3 separate regions of the Homo sapiens genome follow, and all the other regions are linked to region 1. Evidence: promoter capture Hi-C in 16 types of primary human blood cells and fetal thymus (Javierre and others, 2016). All regions are on one chromosome and are shown on one strand. Each heading gives the region's core, a stretch centred on a gene start or on the middle of the fragment in contact. The rest is flanking DNA. Distances are from core to core; before and after follow the strand shown.

Region 1 (3,396 bases), core at 559-3,058:
CTGCTCCACCCAGACAAGCACTTAGAACCAATGGAGGGAGCCTGGGCTGCTGGAACCTATTCCCTATGAGTTCATGGCATAATAGGTGTCAAAAAAAATTCTGAACTGTACAAATGTTTCTCTTCATTGAGAAGTGTGGCGCCGCCCCCTCCCCTTAAAGAAATATTTAAACTACATTTTGTATCCAAAAACCTCAGTGCTCTGCTGTTAAGTAATACATTAATATGCGTTCTCTGAAAATATATAGCAACATATAGGAGTTTCAAATAACTGCATAAGCTAGATACTATCTGTGATATCATCTAGCACGATAGGAATTAATGTGTATTTTTTGCCTTTTAAAATATTGAACAGTTGATCCTGATCATTAGGTATTAAGCACTGTGAAGGATCCTGTCTGAATACAAATGAAACATAAGCCCGAGACCTTAAAAAATAATCCTTTTGTTTGAAATGATCAGAGAGAAAGACTTCTCACTTAAAAATAAATCTTAAACTTTCAGGAACCATTCAAGTTTAGTGTAAACTGTATTCTGAATATAGAGAATTTTTGCTTTTGCTTGTTTTTGTAATCCTACGTGATTTGTATTTAAAAAGACTGGGTAAGATTAAGAAGACGGAGGAGCAAAGGGCTCAGATTCAAGACCTAATTAGCTTGTAGAATCACCAGTTTTCGATGGTGATGTGGAGATTAACAGGGAGGGACGGGCTAATATGAATCATGGCTCTTGGCTGTAAATCATCAGTGATTACGTCCTTTACCAAAGTAAGAAAACAGGTTTGTAGGGAGGCAGAAGTCAGTTTCCAACACTTTGAGTTTGTGGTGTCCTGGAATGTCACCTGATACCTAGTAAGTAGTTCTGGATCTTTGGGTATGGAACTTGAGAAAGGAATCCTGGCTAGAGAGAGAATTCAGGGCAGTTTATCAGTAGATAGCCTAGTAAAATCATCCTTGAGAATCACTGGTCTATTTAATCTCACCTATAAACTCACTTTTCTCTGTAGTTTAGAGGCATATTCAAACACTAATTACTCTGATATGATCCTCCCAACACATCACCTTATATATCCCCTATCCACCAAAAGAAACTTGAAGGGAAGTCCTAACCATCTACCTAGTTCAAATTCTCTTAGAGCATGGCCCAGGGTAGGGAAGGTACGTTAGCCACGTGATTAACTTTTCAGAAGGATACAATTCTGATTTTGCACGTTCACTTTGGTTGTTTTCACTATTGGTAAAGTATAATACTATTAACCATATTAATCCTCACGGCATTAGATGGGTACTATAATTCTATCCATTTAACACGAGAGAACAGGCGCAGAGAGATTAAGGAACTTGCCCCAAGTCACACAGCTATTAAGCAGGTGAGTGAGCCAAAATTCAACCTAGTTCCAAGACCCAGCCCCTTCACCCTACTTTGTTTGCTGTAGTTTAGCCAGATTTTAAAGCATCCACAGCAAGTTAAATTCCCTTATTCCGCTCCCATTCCGTTTTCCCAGAATCCTTAGGGTATGGTATTACAATTTTCTGCACAAGTTTGAGGCTTTAACTCGTAGTCTTGGCCTGAGCCAGCAGATGACATTTTGTTTGGCCGACTAGCCCCTCTAATATAACTCTCCCCCTGCTTCGGGACCTGTTGCCCCTCAGCAGACCGGAAAAACAACAGTGCCCGGGACAGGAACACGCGGCGGCGGAGGGGTCCGGGGGCTCGCCGGCATCCCAGCCCCCCTTCCCCAGGCCCCTCCTCCTGGCCCAGAATGCACCCGGTTGAAAACAAAATCCCACGTGACTGGCTCTCCTCTCAGGCCATCATGGCGTCTCCCAGTGGGAAGGGAGCCCGGGCGCTGGAGGCTCCTGGCTGCGGGCCCCGGCCGCTCGCCCGGGACCTGGTGGACTCCGTGGACGATGCGGAGGGGCTGTACGTGGCTGTGGAGCGCTGCCCGCTGTGCAACACTACCCGCCGGCGGCTGACCTGCGCCAAATGCGTTCAGAGCGGCGATTTCGTCTACTTCGACGGCCGCGACCGGGAGAGGTACGGCGGCCGCCACGGCCCTATTGTTTCTTCTGCTGTGTGTCCTCCAGCCAGGCAGCCGAAGGCTGGAACCTGGGGCTCCCCGTCCGGGCACCAGATACCAGCGAGAGGAGCGAGAGAGAGGGAGTGTAGCTAGCTGCTCTGCACCGGAGCTTTGCTACCAGAGGACAGCGTAGGGGCCAGATGAGGGAAGGTCGCCGTTTCCCCATCACCCACCCAAGAGGAGTTTGACCCCACGGTGCTCTTGGTCACTGGGGAAAAAAGGAATAAGTGGTGACTCTCTGGAGAAGTTTTCCCGTTGCTGCCATTAAGTTAGATTCCCAGCTCTTTGCTGTATGTACTCCCATTCAAAAGCTTGGCTTTCTATTTTCGAAAGCATATTTATACTCATTCTCTAGAGGAGAGAGTAGAAGAGAATCAAATAACTGCTTTAGAGGGATTTGGGCCTGGTAGTCTGTCACAGATGGACTTTGTTATCAGACATGCTTACTCTAATGTGTGAATTGAGGCTTGCTGTTAACGCCCCTTTCCCCTCCCTGCCTCTAAAGATTATTTTAGATTCTTAGGAATTTGGGAACGTGTTTTGGCCTTGTTTTAAAATTCAGATTGGGAGCTGCATGCTTTTAGTTAAGAGAATTGCCTTTAGGAAAATGTTTTGGTTTCATTTCGAAATCTAAACAGCTACAAGTTCTTGGTTAAGAAAATTGAAAAATTAGTGTGATTAGCTGCAGGATCTCCCACTCTCAACTTATGTTTCAACAATTTAGTGTCAATGATAGTCAATGATAGTAAGATAGCTAGCATTCTGAGCACAAAAATTCAGGTATTAATTCATTCGCAACAACCGAATGACTTATCCCCAACTTATTAGGAAGCTGCACAGTAAGTGCTTTGCCCCAGGTCACACAAATAGTTAAGTGTTGGTACAAGAATTAAAATTCAGACAGCTTGGACCTATGTACCCGCACTTAACCACTAGACTTTATATCCTCTATATTTGGGAATGTTTTGAGTTCTTAGTATTTCTGTGATCGTGGATGGAGTTCTTTCCTTTCTCTTTTGAGGAGGTTTGAATGACAAACTCTTTTTTAGTTTTGTTGCTGTGTCTTATTGGTGCTCTTGATGACTTTAGAAACTGCTTATGTAGTAAGTGATAGCTTTAAAAATTAAACCAGTTATAAGAATACGGGGTATGAGATGGAAATGTCTAACTGATGGAGTGAATCGAGGATTTGGTTCTGGACCTTCTTGTCTGTCTACACGTTTTACTATGTCTATTCACATAATTTAAATACCATCTATATGCTTAAGACTGCCAGACTTGTATCTCCAACCTAGTCTTCTCTAAAGTCCAGAAAAC
Region 2 (3,396 bases), core at 529-3,028, 380 kb after region 1:
ATCATTCACTTTTCGGCATAGGTAACATCTTAACAATTACTGAGAAAGTAACTGCTTAAAAAATAACTGTGTGCTATGGAGAGATCTTATCAGAAAAAAGATATTTAGAATTTCTTTCACCATTATTTGATTCTGTTACAAAAAAATGAGAGAAGTCTATCAAACTTTCATATCTTTATACTTAAACACATATAAAGAGAATTTTCTAATCTCTTCCAGAAGCTTCTTTGAACCAAAATTCTAAAATATAAAAAAATCAATCATGTTGCTTTCAATAAAAATAACTTAATTTTAGTGAGAGAAAAATTATTTTTATTGTTATGAAGACTAAAGATTAGTTTTTTGAAATTGTGCTTTCGTATCTTGTCCATACATGTAAAATCTGAATGTAAAAAAAAAGTGTAGGGTTCTGAATCCGAACAAGTTGTTCCAGATAGCCTATCATTAATTCTTAAAATTTTATAAAAACTTTGTATAGGGCCGGGCGCGGTGGCTCACACCTGTAATCCCAGCACTTTGGGAGGCCTAGGTGGGTGGATCACGAGGTCAGGAGATCGAGACCATCCTGACTAACACGGTGAAACCCCATCTCTACTAAAAATACAAAAAATTAGCCGGGTGTGGTGGCAGGCGCCTCTAGTCCCAGCTACTCGGGAGGCTGAGGCAGGAGAATGGCATGAACCCAGGAGGCGGACCTTGCAGTGAGCTGAGATCGTGCCTCTGCACTCTAACCTGGGTGAGACTCCGTCTCAAAAGAAAAAAAAAAACTTTGTATACATGAGGTAGAATAATAATAAGGTGGCTTTACCAACAATTTCATGTGACACAGAAATCAAAGATGATGGTTTGAAAGATGGTGACAAATCAAAGATCTTTGACTGTAGCTGCAAAAAAGCTTTTTAAAAAGAAGGTGAAAGAATCACTTGGGAAAAGGCTGCTTTGGCTCTTGATTCAATAATTAATTTTTTACGAAGGCAGCTATGTTACATTGCCCTGGGGAGTACAGAATGACATCTTTTTTTTTTTAAGTCATATTTCTTAATGAGCAAAAAGCAAATGTTTAAAAAGCAAGTTTATATAAAAGCCTTCTCAAGAAAACAAGTACCCAGATTCTGCCACTATTTGGTCCCAGGTTCTACCACAAATTACAATGACAACAATAACAAAATGAGTGCCCATTATGTCAATTTTCATTACAAAATATTTAAATAACATTTAGTAATACTGACTAAGGCTGAGAAGGTGATTTTAATTCAAAATTTCTACAGGAAACAATTCAAATCCAATAATTAAAAGGATAAGCTTCATTTATCTGGAAATTAATTAGTATCCTCTATGATGTAGGATAACAGCATTATTGCATACGTTAATTATTCATTGAACTACTTATGTCTATGATGCTGACATACATCTAACACCACAACTAATGTAAATACTAAATTGGAATACATTTGATCCTATAAAGAATAATTCAGTATACTACATTAATAATTCACAAATATATTATTATTCTGGTAGTAATTAAGCCTGGGGACTTTCCCTACGAAATTCATGATTCCAAAGTTTACCTGCCATCATGTGCCCAAAAACTCCTTGAAAGCATTCTGATCATAGTCCTTGATATTTGAGTTGGATTCTGTAGAAACACTTAGGCTCCACAAACGGAAGTCACTGGAGAGCAGACAACAGATGAACTCCTTGGAATGTTAAGAAAAAAATCTGAAAACAGGTTTGTTTGTATGGGAAAATATCTGACCTAAAAAACAAATGTTTTCTCATTACAGAAGCAATACAGGTTCATTTTCCAGTAAATATTTTAAAGTATCTCCTTTTTTCATGCTACTGAGCCAGGGCTCATGGGACTTAATTGCAATTTTCTAAAAAAGAATCATTGATTTAGTAGCACTACACCCTCCTTTCCCTTTCTCCCCACTTTTTCCATGCTTTCCTAATTATAGTTTGCTTATGTCACTTTTCCCCACTCTGTACTCTTGTGGACACTAGTTCTGAAAGATGTTAACACATATTCTGGAGAAAAAAAGGTTCTCTTGTCAAATAAGTTTGGGAAATGCTTCTTCTCTCAAAGATTACAGTGCATATTTAGCAAACGTTCCCAGGAGATCCTTCAGTAAAGAAATCTGCATAAACCATAGCTTCCTGTCTTTACTTTGCCATAAATCCTTTTGTGGAAGAAAGTTTGGGGAAACATTAATGGGCTAATCTGTTAACATCAGTGTACATTCCCTAAGCTTATTAGCTAAAGATAAGGAGAGAGGTCTAGGAACCCATCACTGAAGGGGCTAATCTAGAGTGAAGAAAGCAGAAACTACGAGCTGGCAGTACCTGAACTTCTAAAAGCAGAAGGAAGATTAACAGAATTTAAGAAACAGAATATTTAAGATATAATACTGAACCATTTTATGGAATAAATTAGATTGAACAGATTTATTTTTTCTTCCAATCTGTAATTTGTTATGATAAAAACAATATATGCTCATTGTATAATACATGGACCATTCAGAAAAGTTTAAAAAGGAGGGGGAAAAAAGCTATAATTCCATTATTTAAAAGCAAGCAATTTTGACATTTTGGCTTATTTCCTTGAATTCTTTTTTCTTGTGAGACCAATTAAGCATAAAGAGAAAATTTTAAAGTTTTAAAGATCTGTAAAAAATTAACAACCTACACTGTTTTTCACTATACCATATTTGAAAATAAACATGGTGAAGATGAAATAGCATGAGCTGCTGAACTGTCAAATGTGGGCTACAATTCAGACTTTTCCACTCACTAGGTATGTTACCTGGTTTAAAAAAATCTAATTTAGCTTAAGTTCTCCCACTGTAAAATCTGGATAATGCCAGCTACCTCATGTTTTTACTGCCAGGAGTAAAAGGTATGAAAACAACATACACTGAACTTAATGAAAAGAAATATTAACTGCTTCCTAGTATTACTCAGAACTTTTCATGTTAGAAGAAGTACATTTCTAAAAATGAGAGGTGGGAACACTTTTTTTAAAGAACACTATTTTTTTAAGAAAAAGGGGAGGGGAAACAAAGGCTATATGTAAGGCTAGAAAATCTGCACAAAAACGTGCCTCAGAAATCTGAAGTCAAGGAGGCTCTTCCATTTCTGAAATATCACAAAGCACTTTATATTATTCCTGATGTTAAATATATTATTTTTAAAAAGTTTTAAATTCTTTAAAACAAAAAATTGTAGTTTTTTAGAAGCTTAGTAAATAGATTTAAGTAGAAACAGGCAAAGATTTTATAAGATTGTATTATATTTTCTTCACTGCTTTATAACAATTACATATGCTTACATTTAAGGTTGGGTAACAAGTTTTACGTACAAATTAGTAAAAGGTGACTCTACACTTTATGTTTTACT
Region 3 (3,396 bases), core at 423-2,922, 350 kb after region 1:
TTTTATATATGCATTCATGTGCATATACATGTACTTCAAAAAGCAAAGCGTCATCTCTTCGTCCATTGTTAACTTAATGGTAAGACTGCAATAGAAAAAAGAAAAAGTCAACTTCTAGATTTTGCAAATGGAGTTTATTAACTCCTTACTGTGGCTTAAAGTAAATTTATTGCTTAATAAATCCAAACAGCAAGTCACATCATTTACTCTGGCATACACTTTGCAAAACAAATATTTTTAGATAATATATATAGCAAGAAAGAAATTACACTAATGCAAGGAGGAAGTTTTAGGGGTACTTTAAAGATTTCTTTTCCTTTATAGCTGGATTGGATGTTTGACTAATCTAATCAGAGATCTGGCTAGTTATTTTCGTACTAAGAGTTAACAGATTTTTTTTTTTTCCTGGCTGGGCATGGTGGCTCAGGCCTGTAATCCCAGCACTTTGGGAGGCTGAAGCAGGCGGATCACTTGAGGTCAGGAGTTCAAGACCAGCCTGGCCAACATGGTGAAACTCCATCTCTACTAAAAATACAAAAATGAGCCGGTGTGGTGGCACACGCCTGTAATCCCAGCTACTCAGGAGAATCGCTTGAACCTGAGAGGTAGAGATTGCAGCGAGCCGAGAGACTGCACTCTTGCCTGGGTGACAGAGCAAGACTGTCTCAAAAAAAAAAAAAAAAAAAAAAAAAAAAAAGAGTTAACAGATTTTTTTTCCTAAGGAAAATCTTTACTCTGCGTTTGGATACTCGTTTGGCTTACCTCACAGGGGAAGTGGGGTACTTTTCCATTTGGTTATATGACCAAGGCAGGCTCCTCAACTAAGATGTTAACCCCACACTGGGTTGTCTGACAGTAAAGCATAAAGCATTACATGTAACTGACAATAAAGAATAGGGGTGTAATCTTGAGCTCGAGAACTGCTTGAAAGATGAACATTACCTACTCATTGCCTTGGATTCTCTAAAAATCTACCTCTATCAAGCTAGACAGGTAGAGACTGCTTTTACTGAACTGTACTTTGGTGTGATGCTATAAAACAATACTGAGAAATAATAATAATAAAACAAAAAGCCCAATGAAATGAATCTCAGAGTTTACCTAAAGGATGCTATTGAGGACACTGCTTACTACATTACAAAGTCTTTGGGGATCTTTGGAAAATTCTTCTTTTTAGCACAAGGAATACTTAAAACAGTGCTTTCATCCTTTTAAATGCTTTACCTGAAGGTTTGAAATTTACTTATTTAATATACACACACCCTCTTTTAAAAACTTAAAAGCCTTCTTAATCTTCCATCCAAAACTGGGGAGAAACAATGTCAGTTGTGCTATGTACAATTAGTACACTTTAAATAACAAATTGAACACTCACATGGGGGCCACCAGGCATTGGTGGAGCACCAGAAGGTCCTGAAGGCACTTGGAAAGGATTACTGGGAGTAGGATAGAGTCCTGGTGTGGGATACGATCCTGTAGGGGCAGGATATGGTGCTGGTGGTCCCCAGGCTCCTGGTGGAACGGTGCCCCATGGAACAGGTGGTGCTGCCCCAGGGGCTTGGGGAGGAGGAGGAGCGGGATATGGGCCTGGAGATGGATATGGCATATTAGGGGTAGGATACTGCCCTCCCATTCCTGGCGCCCAAGGTCCAGAAGACATGGATCCCCATGGACCTAAAGGACCAGCTGCAGCTGGATCTGTGGGTGCACCATATGGTCTGGGTAGCTCTGGAAAGGGCATATTTGGTGTAGGATATGGCCCTGTGGGGCCAGGGCCCGGCACAGTTGGGGCTGGATAAGGACCACCAGGTGGGGGACATGATGGTCCGGAAGGAGGAAAGGGTGCTGGGGGTCCTGGAGGTGGTCCGGTGGGAGGCACGGAGGGATACATTCCTGTTGGTGCTGGTCCAAAAGGCACAGTGGAGGGTGTTGCACTTGGTGGGAGTCCAGATGGCACTGAAGATGGAGCACTCGGATTATTCCAAGGGTTGGAGCCTGGCCAGCCTTGAGGAGGTTGGCCAGGTTTTGTATTGCTCACAGCAGAGGTTTTGGCAGGGGAGTGTTCAGGTAGTGCATCTGCCAACTGGAACACAAAACAGATACGTCTTTCCTATCTAGGGAAAAGTTACATCGAACACCATTATAAACCCACAGAGAATAGTAACCTATAGGGGCAGGGATTATAAACCTCAAGAATATCTTCAAAAGCTAAGCTAGTCATTTAAAAAATACTCTATTTAACATAAACCTTGAGATGCTACTTTGCGTATCAACTTTACAGTGCAAATTCTTCAGAGAAACTCGTTTTCTAAATACAACTAATCATATTGTGCTTCATTTCTCTGCTGTATTAATACAACAAAATACAGTAATTAAGAAGATAGAACTAACAGTCAAGATATGGATTTGAATCCTGGCTTAACCTCAAAGGAGCTACATACTCTGAGATAGAGCCTCTTCAGTTTCAAAACTGTTTTAGGGTTAACTTGAGGCTTAAATATGATATTTCATGTAGTACACTTTCACAGAGTGCCTGGTATATAATAATTTCTAATAAATGTTGGCTATTAATACTATCAGGGTAAAAGAGAACAACAGAAGTAACATCTTAAATTTTCATTTAAAGAAATACATATTTTCATAAATACAGGAAACATTTCCAAACATGCTATTATCTCAGTAAACTAAGGCAAATCACCTATCAAAATCTCTTTACTACCCCCAAAGCCAAGAATCACAAAAAGCATCTCTTTTATTTATTTATAGACAGAGTCTCACTCTGTCACCCAGGCAGGAGTGCAATGGCACAATCATGGCTCACTGCAGCCTGAAACTCTTGGGGTCAAGGGATCCTCCCAAGTAGCTAGGACTACAGGTGCACACCACCATGCCTGGTTAAAGCATCTCTTTTAAGTGAAAAGATTTACGTAGCCCAGTTAGGACCATGTTGTTTTTCTTAAGAGATGAAAAACTTATCACAGATAAACTGATCAACTTACCGAAAATTCATCAGACATTTTCCTAAAAAAAGAAAAGAAATGAAGGAAGAAAGAAAAATTTCAAAATCAGTGTTCACCATTTCTTAAATATTCCTTAAGGAACTTTCTATGCATACATTATTATTACTTAAGCGGAATCTTATTTATGTAATGTGTTTTTCTTTACATAGGAAAGTTTTCCATAATAGTTCATACAGCTCTATTAACTTCATCCCTTTTAATGGCTGCACATCATACAAAAATGATTTGCAATTTAATTTACCTTCTTTTTGTAGCAGTATAAGTTGTTTTAAGTATGATACAGTGAACATCTCTCAACACTTCTTTGTTTGTGTGTGAGAATCTAACACCAGGAAAAAGCACTGGACATGGAATTTAGAGTCAACAGATAAATTTA

Evidence for each region. Contacts are between HindIII fragments. The CHiCAGO score rates a contact against its expected background, and 5 or more counts as called.
Region 2: a contact is called between a fragment that was not itself captured here and the fragment with the promoter of ATG14 in region 1, in 1 of 17 cell types (erythroblasts). The highest score is 5.3, in erythroblasts.
Region 3: a contact is called between a fragment that was not itself captured here and the fragment with the promoter of ATG14 in region 1, in 1 of 17 cell types (naive CD8 T cells). The highest score is 5.0, in naive CD8 T cells.

The regions. Positions count from the first base shown.
Region 1 is chr14:55,410,242-55,413,637 of GRCh38, reverse strand. It overlaps ATG14 (autophagy related 14), which reads left to right and starts at 1,808. Exons shown (of 10, transcript NM_014924.5): 1 at 1,808-2,036. The coding sequence starts at 1,816. It also overlaps a transcript of FBXO34 not described here and the pseudogene RPL21P6. RefSeq lists a silencer at 1,519-1,818. The HindIII fragment of the contact is 5,042 bases long and covers 1-2,392 here.
Region 2 is chr14:55,030,164-55,033,559 of GRCh38, reverse strand. SOCS4 (suppressor of cytokine signaling 4) reads right to left here. Exons shown (of 3, transcript NM_199421.2): 2 at 1,569-1,697. Among named protein-coding and RNA genes, the nearest start is that of SOCS4, 4.6 kb to the right of the region's middle. The HindIII fragment of the contact is 947 bases long and covers 1,305-2,251 here.
Region 3 is chr14:55,061,305-55,064,700 of GRCh38, reverse strand. MAPK1IP1L (mitogen-activated protein kinase 1 interacting protein 1 like) reads right to left here. Exons shown (of 4, transcript NM_144578.4): 2 at 3,000-3,021; 3 at 1,376-2,083; 4 at 1-85. The coding sequence starts at 3,017. The coding sequence ends at 74. Among named protein-coding and RNA genes, the nearest start is that of MAPK1IP1L, 11 kb to the right of the region's middle. The HindIII fragment of the contact is 6,604 bases long and covers 1-3,396 here.